2 separate regions of the Homo sapiens genome follow, and region 2 is linked to region 1. The links are contacts of gene promoters, found by promoter capture Hi-C in human tissues and cell types (Jung and others, 2019). All regions are on one chromosome and are shown on one strand. Each heading gives the region's core, a stretch centred on a gene start or on the middle of the fragment in contact. The rest is flanking DNA. Distances are from core to core; before and after follow the strand shown. Region 1 holds the start of WNT10A (Wnt family member 10A). Region 2 overlaps NHEJ1 (non-homologous end joining factor 1).

What was found. The method cuts DNA at HindIII sites, captures the fragments that hold promoters and counts their contacts. A contact is called where the count stands out against the background at its distance.
Region 2: a contact is called between a fragment that was not itself captured here and the fragment with the promoter of WNT10A in region 1, in 1 of the 25 tissues and cell types used here (aorta).

Annotation. Positions count from the first base shown.
Region 1 is chr2:218,877,778-218,882,198 of GRCh38, reverse strand. WNT10A (Wnt family member 10A) reads right to left here and starts at 1,347. Exons shown (of 4, transcript NM_025216.3): 1 at 1,091-1,347; 2 at 1-38. The coding sequence starts at 1,203. RefSeq lists silencers at 1,272-1,411, 1,432-1,641, 1,862-1,921. The HindIII fragment of the contact is 13,021 bases long and covers 1-4,421 here.
Region 2 is chr2:219,135,146-219,139,950 of GRCh38, reverse strand. All of the region lies in intron 5 of NHEJ1 (non-homologous end joining factor 1), which reads left to right. Among named protein-coding and RNA genes, the nearest start is that of NHEJ1, 23 kb to the left of the region's middle. The HindIII fragment of the contact is 4,149 bases long and covers 1-3,398 here.

The DNA of each region.
Region 1 (4,421 bases), core at 98-2,597:
GGGGGAGGCGGAGGTCCAGAATGTCATTGGGTGCTGACCTGCAGACATATGGGGTGGAGTGGGTACGTGTTTTGGGGGGACCAGGAGAGCCCCATCTAACAACACACACTCTGTCCCAACGGCCATAATCACTCCCTCTTCCAACCTCTGCTTCTGAAGGTTGGGCCCATCAGTACACTCCTACACATTCCTCTCTCCTTGACCTCCTCACAATCATCCTGCCCAGTGCAACTCACTCAGCTAGCTGCACACCCACACAGGTAAGCGTGCAAATGCACACACATCCACCATGCTTGTGGCCACAGTATTTCCTATGCACATCCCCAGGAATAGATGCCCATACACACAGGGTTCCCCACAAGCCCACTCCCACAGATATGTTTCAGTCACATTCACATAGACACACTTCTGCACACATTGTGGTGGACACACAAACCCAACCCCAGCACACTTACGCACATGCACACTTCATCAGACATAGTTACAGACACACACACAAAGACACTCCCATTTACACATGTGTTCATCTTAACATACATTGACCCATGAGCTCTCACATGCACACATGGGCACACATACAAACTACTGTTTACCAACACAGTTTGCTGGGATCCTGGGCTCGATTGAAAACACACACACACACACACACACACACACAGCTCTTGCAGCTGCAGTCTCTCACTGACCCCACCTGGGCTACCCCCTTCCAGCCTCCCAACCCCTGCCCCTACCTGGGGCTGAGCTGCAGGAAGGAGTGAGGCAGCTTGTGCTTACTCCTGAGGTGGGGGTGCATTCCCCCAACAGGGCAGGAACTCCAGACTGGCACTTGCTCCCCCCCCACACACACCTCCCCTCCTAGTTGCCATCATGCTCCTGGGCACTGCCTTGTCTCCCTGGACTGCCCATATCCTGTCACCAGTCCAACCCCCTCCTATGAGGGAGCTCACTGCCTTTGGTTGGGCACCAGCACTTTCCTATGACCCTGTCCCTCCCTTCTTCCAGGGTCCTCTACCCCAGCAAGAGCATCAGAGGCCCCTGCAGGCCGGGGTCCCAACTCTCTAGGAGGGCGGAGCATGAGGTGAGGGCTCACCTGGGCATGGCAGCAGCCAGCAGCAGTAGGAAGAACAGGAGCACCCAGAGCGCTGGCCGCGGCTGGGGCTGGGGTCGGAGCCGCAGCCAGGGGCGAGGGTGGGCGCTGCCCATGGCGCGCAGGCCCTGACGGGCTGGGAGTGGGGGGCTCACAGCCCAGTGGGACTGGAGAGCCAGGGGCGCCGGCGCATGATCGGCGGGGGGTCGGGGCGGCTGCGACACACAGCTCCGACTCGGGTCAGGGCTCCCGGAGCAGACGGCGCCCGCCTCCCCGCTCCATGGGGCAGCACCCCCGGGCACCGCCCTCGGGGGGGGCGGGGGGTGAAGAGCGGGCGAACCGGGCACCTCCTGGCACAGGGGTCCGGGGAATTTCCCGAGGCCCCCCCGCGACAACTCCCGGTGCCTCTCAAGGGTAAGGGGGGCCCGGAGGTGCAGCGGGCTGGGGACGGGAGGCTGGGGTGCCGGGGAACCCTCCAGCGCAGCGCCGGGAGCCTGCGCTTCCGAGGGCGTGCGAGGCTGGCTGGCGGGGGCGGCGCTGTCTGTGTCGGGCCCCACTGCCTGTAGAGTAAGTGACTGTCCCGGCTCGGGGAGCTCTGCCGCCTTCCCTTTCCTCCCCCCACCCCCCCGCCATTTAGTGTCTCAGGGCTCTACCCCACGTGACGTCACGCGGCGGGGCGTGGAGGCGTGTACGAGTCCCGAGGCCACTGCGTCCGCTGGGGACTGGGGGTGGGAGCGTCCCTGCTGAGGGCAACAGAGGGAAAGGTGTTGGGGTCTGTGCGCGCGTGCACAGGAAGATGCCTGTGTGTGGAGCGCGCTGGGTTGTGTGGGGGATATGTGTTACCGCGAGGTGTGTGTGCCTGGCAGAGACGCAGCTGCTGGGGAGCGCCCCCATCCCACCCCAACACACACACCTGCAGGGGCTGGAGGGGAGGGGCTGGCCTCTGTGTTTCGCCTCCTCCGCCAGAGGAGGGACTTCCCCCAGGCCTGCCTGGTGTGAGGCAGGTGTGGGCTCCTGCAGAGGAGTTTGGCAGCCTCTGGTTTCTTCTCCCCTTTGCTGTGTGACCTTAAACAGGTGCCTCCTGCTCCTGCTCACGGAGACCTCCTCTGCCCCTTTGCGGAATGCGGCTCATGGGGACCACCTTGTCTCCTCAGTGAGCCCGGGGAGGCAGCAGTGTCAGGCCCCCAGAAAATGCTTGCGTAGGAGCGCCCGGGGTGGCACGTCCTGGGAGGAGGCGTTAGAGAGACTTTTAACCCTAGAAGTGGCCGTTGAGATAGTTTATTTAGCTCCCCTTTATTTCACAAGAAAATATCGAGGCTCAAAGAGGTCACACAGCAAATTAGCGGAAGAGCGAGAACCGAACGCAGCTCTCCTGACTCCCAGCGCAGCAGCTGCCTCCCCAACACTGAGTGTTGCCTGCCTGTGCCCGCAGATACTCTCAGTCTTGTCCTGGCCCTCCCTGGCCCCACCTGCACATGGTCCTCTAGGAGGTCCCTAATACCAGCCTCCTGGCTCAGGTCTACTTCTCGCTGAGATCTTCCTGTCCCTCCACCCCAACTGAACACTGGGCCCCTCCTCGATATAGTGCAAGTGTGCTGGGCCCAAGCAAGGGCCTGAGAGCCAGAGGGCAGGGGAAAGGCAGCTCTGCCGTCTGTTTCTGGTGCTAGCCTGGGCCCTGATAGTGGATCGTGCTCCTGCCCTGTGCCCTCGGCATCCTCCTCTGTAAAATGGGCACAAGCCTTTACACAAACATGCCCCTCTCTCTGAAGAGAGCCCCTGCTGGCTTAGGAACAAAACTATGGGAGCCTCTGGGCTCAGAGACAAAAAAGGCCCATTCCTGGAATTGCCCATCCCTGGGGAACTGAAGGAGGGGGTGGGGCCCTCCTTGTCCCCAGACTGTCAGGTGGTGGGGGCGGCCTGAGCAACAGCAGGCTGACGGCATACTCCCCCCTCCTTTCCCCCTCATCTCTGCCGGCAGCCACCGCAGCTGTCAGGAATTAAGGGCTTGAGGCTGCTGGGGGTGGGGGTGGGGCAGTGGGGGGGGAGCAGTCTGGCTGGACTGCAGGAAAACAGCCAGGGGCAGCAAGCAGACTGCGTCAGCTAGAGCCTTATTTGACCCCAACTGCCCCCTGCCCTCCCCACTCTCCCTACCATGCTGCAGAAACGGGGACAGCTTGGGACTAGCATTTGGGAAGGGTAAGCGGTAAGGGTAAGGGTGGGACCAGACTCAAGACAGGAGACAGGCACCAGCCCAGGATGAGAGAGGACACCAGCAAGCTGGAGAGTCATATTCTTATTGGCTGTTGGGGAAACTGAGGCCCAGAAAGAATTAGGAACGTGACACAGGGAAGGGACTCATAATCAGCTTACAGATGTCCTTATTCCCCATCACGCGCTCACACTAGCATTTCCCACGCTTGATGCAGCACAAGTGTCCCCTGGGGTGGGCCATTGTGGGAATGCGGATTCCAGGCCCCATGAAGTTGAATCAGCCTTTCCAGGGAAAGGCCTGGGTGTCTGTCTTTCTAGCTAGCATCCCCAGTGATTCTGGTGGGGACTCCTTTTGGGAAACGCTGCTGACCTGGTTGAGGAGCTGATTTAGTTTCCTTTGGCATCTCTCTGATGAGGGGGTCTCTTTTCTTCCCCACCTCCACTGTCTGTGAAATACAGAGGTGCAAAGGAGACCGAGAAAACCCTTTCTTAAAAAAAAACAAAAAAGCCTCCGGAGGCAAATAGTGATACTGAGGCTTGCACTCAGGCGTGGCTCTGCCCTGGTGTCAGGAGGGTCTAGGAGTGCCCAAGTCAGAGCACTTCTCAGTGAAGGGAGGGGAGAGTCTGTGTTGGTCCAGAGCCTTGGCATGTATGTAGGTGAGGCCCAGAGACTGTCTGCCCCTGGGGTCCCAGCCCCAAATGACCCACACCATGGCCAAGCCCCTATCAGCACCCCCTAGTCCCCACCCTGGCCCTGCCCTGGGCCCTGGCCCTCAGCCCAGCCCCAGCCCCCGCAGCCGCCGCCTAAGACCACAATTACAGGGGCCACTGGGGGGCGGGGGAGCACTGGGGATGAAAGGCAGCTTGGAGAATGGTTCCAGCTGTGGCAGCTCTGGAGAAGGTCACAGGGAGGAAGGGCCGGGGAAGCATGGGGGTGAGAACAGGTGGGACCCTCACAGCCCCAGCCTAGCCCAGTCCAGCCCCAGCCCAGTCCTGGTGCCCAGCTGGAGAAGTTTGTCTTGCTGAAGAAGAACGCCAAGGAGCCACAGACCAATAAGGAGGCTCTTCATTCCATTGTCCAGGCCTCAGAGGCCACCAACCCTCAGCAAGGTAAGGGGGAATG
Region 2 (4,805 bases), core at 75-2,574, 260 kb before region 1:
TCGCAGCACTTTGGGAGGCCAAGGCAGATGGATCATGAGGTCAGGAAATCAAGACCATCCTGGCTAACACGGTGAAACCCTGTCTCTAATAAAAATACAAAAAATTAGCCGGGTGTGGTGGCAGGCGCCTGTAGTCCTAGCTACTTGGGAGGCTGAGGCGGGAGAATGGCGTGAACCTGGGAGGTCTCAGAGCTTGCAGTGAGCCGAGATCGTGCCACTGCACTCCAGTCTGGGCGAAAGAGCGAGACTCTGTCTCAGAAAACAAAAACAAAAACAAAAAACCCCAAAAAACCAAAAACACATTTATTATCTTGCATGGTTTCTGAGGGTCAGGAATCTGGGAGCAGCTTAGTGGGTGTGATTCTGGCTCAGTGTCTCTCATGATGTTGCAGTCAATATGTCAGCTGGTAACGCAGTCATTGTAACATCCGGATAATTCATATCCAAGCTTTCTCATGTGGCTGTTGGCAGGAGGTGCCATTTCTTGCTATGTGGCCTGTCCATAGGGCTACTCACAGGACCTGGTTTCCTCCAGAGCCAGTGATCCAAGAGACAAAGACCAAGGCCAGGTGGGGTGGCTCATGCCTGTAATCCCAGCACTTTTGGAGGCTGAGGCGGGCAGATCACCTGAGGTTAAGAGTTCAAGACCAGCCTGGCCAACATGGTGAAACTTCGTCTCTACTAAAAATACAAAAATTAGCTGGACATGGTGGCATGCACCTGTAATCCCAGCTACTCAGGAGGCTGAGGTGGGAGAATTGCTTGAACCCGGGAGGCAGAGGTTGCAGTGAGCTGAGATCACACCACTGCACTCCAGCCTGGGCAACAGAATGAGACTCTGTCTCAAAAAAAAAAGAAAAAGAAAAGAAAATGAGAAACGAAACCAAGACCAAATGGACCTGCAGTCCTTTTATAACCTAATTTCAGAAGTTACATTCTATCACTATCTCACTGTATTCTTTTTATTAGAAATGAGTCACTAAGTCTGGGTCACACTTAAGTGGAAGGTAATTAATTAAACTTCACCTCTTAAGGGGAGCTGTGTCAAAGAATTTGGAGACATATCTACATAGACTACATCCATCTACATGGACTACAACAATGTCTTTTTTCAAATGTTACCTTCCCAATAGAGTTTACCCTGACTACTCATTTAAAGTTGTAAGCTCCATTTGTCCCCCCTGCACCTTAGCACTCCCATTTCATCTTACCATCCTCTACTTTTTATTTTTTCTATAGCACCTAGTTTCCAACATATTGCCATAAAATTTACTTATTTTATTATACTTACTGTTTATGGTCTATCTCCTGTCTGTTAGAATGTAAGCTCAACAAGGACAAAGATGTATGTTTTGTGCACTGGTCTAGCCCAAGTGCCTAGAACAGTGCCTCCACACATAGTAGGCACTCTATAAGTGTTTGTTGAATAGAAGAAGAAATCATATCTTCCCACTCTTTTTTATTTTCCTCCTCTTATGAATAGGCCAGCAAATAATCACCTATTGGTAGCCTTAGACATAGGCAGCCTTACATGTAAATAGATGAGTAGCCTATATTCCCATTCTACCACCTGCCTTATTTGTTTGACATTTATGTTTTCTGAAAGGCAGTCCCAACTTCGGGATGAAGTGTATATAAACCTTGAATCTTTTATTATTGAGAAATCCCAGAACCTCTCTTTTTTTAGAGCCAGTTAAGAGACTAACACCTCAAAAGTCAAAAGAATAAGTACCTAACAAAATCCTGGAAAGAAAATTAGTCTTAGAGTCACAAGGGCTCCACTTCCACAGTTAGAAGGGCTACCCTTTTACCATGTACCTGTTGTTCAATATGTAGAGAAAGCCATAGGATTCAGGGTGGTTTTTTTTTAGTGTCCATGTGGGCATCGTAAAAAAGGATAAGTCTAGATGCATGAGAATATGCTCCCTCCTATTATGTGTGTCAGTTCTCCGACCTAGAAAAACTTGCAGTTAATTCATCCTTTCGGTATTCGGTCAGGTGCATGCGGGCTGAATGAGGTTCTGTGAGCATATAAGGTATGATAATATTGCCATCAAAGAGCTTATAGTGCTTAGTGAATGATAATAAGGGCCATAGTAGTGGAGTGATTAGAAAAAGCTTTCTATAAATGGCAGGACGTGAACTGGGCTTTGATTTAGGCTTTGATTGAAAACTATGTGGAAGACATTTTAGGTGGGAAGCACTTGGGCAAAGGATGGAAAATAAGAATAAGAATGGATGAGGATTAGTAGAAAATAAAGTTAGCAAGATAATAACTTGAGGCTAAATTGTGGGGGCCTTAAATGTTGGGCTGGCAGATTAGTGTTTTATTCTGAAGGTGGTTTTCAGTTTTTTTTGTTTTTTTTTTTTTTTTTTTTTTGCCTGTAACACATTTATTTCTCCATTTAGTTCAATTGTTAACGACTGTCATTATGTGCTGTGATTCTCAAGTGGGGACACATCTCCTAGGAGGGAGATGGGGCACATTCTCCTTGCACTTATTAATTACTGTTGCAGATAGTGGGAAGCCATTGAAAGTTTTGACTGGAGAATTGACATATGAAGGTGATCTTTAGGAATATTAGGCTCTTGGTCATATGCTTATGTGATTTGAAGAATAGTGATGCCATTGATAGACTAGGAAGATCATGGGTGGGGTCGGTTTAACCGTGGGCATATAAAAGAATTGTTTTCCTTACTGAAAATATGAATGTACCAGTATTTGAGCTCTGGAATGAAAATCTCCAGGGAGGAAGGTATGGCTGTGCATGTTTCTCAACTATATTTTGTTTTTTCTGAATTTCACCTTCTCTTTGGGGTTTTCTCACTGTGAATCCTGTAGTAACCAGGGGTTACCACTTCTTTTTTTTTTTTTTTTTCTCAAGAAGAGCTAAAAAGACCTCTTTCTTTATTTTCCTTTTGCAAAGGCTTATAAGGGCTTATGTTTTCAAAAGGAAATTTATTAAAAATTTTAAAGTAATTTTTTAAAAAAATTGTTAAAATTTTGAGAGAGAAAAAAAAGGAAATCAATATAGAAAATACAAATGGGGCCAGGTGCGGTGGCTCAGGTCTGTAATCCCAGCACTTTGGGAGGCTGAGGCGGGCAGATCAGTTGAGGTCGGGAGTTTGAGATCAGCCTGGCCAACATGGCGAAACCCCATCTCTACTAAAGATAAGAAAACTAGCTGGGTGCAATGGTGGGTGCCTGTAATCCCAGCTACTCAGGAGGCTGAAGCAGGAGAATCGCTTGAATCTCGGAGGCAGAGGTTGCAGTGAGCCGAGATTGTGCCACTGCACTCCAGCCTGGGCAACAGAGCAAGACTCCATCTCAAAGAAACAAACAAATAAAGAAACCAAGTAGGGGCTACGTGTGGTGGCTCACGCCTATAATCCCAACAGTTTGGGAGGCTGAGGTGGGTGGATCACCAGAGGTCAGGAGTTCGAGACCAGCCTGGCTAACATGGCGAAACTCCATCTCTACTAAAAATACAAAAATTAGCCGGGCTTGGTGGCACAGGCTTGTGATCCCAGCTACTTGGGAGACTGAGGCAGGAGAATCACTTGAACTCTGGAGGCTGAGGTTGCAGTCAGCCAAGATTGCATCACTGCACTCCAGCCTGAGCGACAAAGCGAGACCTTGTCTCTAAAAAAAAAAAAAAAAAAAGAAACCAAGTGGGAATACATTATGAGAAAGACACTGTCTCAGAAAAAGAAAGAAAGAATACAAAGGGGGTAAAAATTATCCATTTTGGGTTTCTGATTCTAAGAATCCCAATAGCAAAGGAGTTTCCCATATCTCAAATTCTCTTATCCTAAAAAATCTCAAAACCAGATATTACAAAATCAGATATCTGCAGGGGCCAGTCATATTACATAAACATGTATATCAGGCTGGATAGAAGACAACAGAGAGTTGTAGGGGCCTGTGGAAAACGAAATCATGCATGTCCCTGTATCTAGACCTGGATAGGCTAGCACAGTTTAACAGACTGCGCTCCAGGGGGTTGTATATCTTACTTTACTCAAAGGAAGTTACCAACTCTGCCAAAGTGAAAACTATTTTTTCCTCTGTTTTGCTCCATCAAATCCACCATTAGTCTCTCATTTGGTTTATTTATTTATTTATTTGTTTTCTAAAAGAGACAGGATCTCACTATGTAGCCGAGGGCTGGTCTTGAACTCCTGGGCTCAAGCAATTTGCCTGCCACAGCCTCCCAAAGTGCTGGGATTACAGGCATGAGCCACACTTACTTGCTTTAAATCTCCAGTCTAAGAAATCCATTTGGTTCAGATTTGATTTGTGAGGCAGTGATGATGTTTGATGTCTTACTTCTTTACTTTTGAGACGGAATCTCACTCTGTCCTGTAGGCTGGAGTGCAGTGGGGTGATCTCGGCTCACTGCAACCTCTGCCTCCTGGGTTCAAGCAATTCTCCTGCCTCAGCCTCCTGAATTACTAAGATTACAGGCACCTGCCACCACGCCTGGCTAATTTTTTTGTATTTTTAGTAGAGACAAGGTTTCACCGTGTTGGCCAGGCTGGTCTCAAACTCCTGACCTTGAGTGATCCACCCACCTCGGCCTCCCAAAGTGCTGGGATTACAGGCGTGAGCCACTGTGCCCGGCCTTGATGTCTTACTTCTGACAAATACCTAGCCCTTTTGGGCCTAACCTATAAGCTTCATGTACCTCCAGAGCTTTTTGTGAAGATTTACACAGTTGAGTCTCCCTCCTCTTTCCCCTAGTAGAAGAAGGGTTTCATAAAAATCCATTTGTTACAGTATGGTAATTTAACAATGCCTTAGC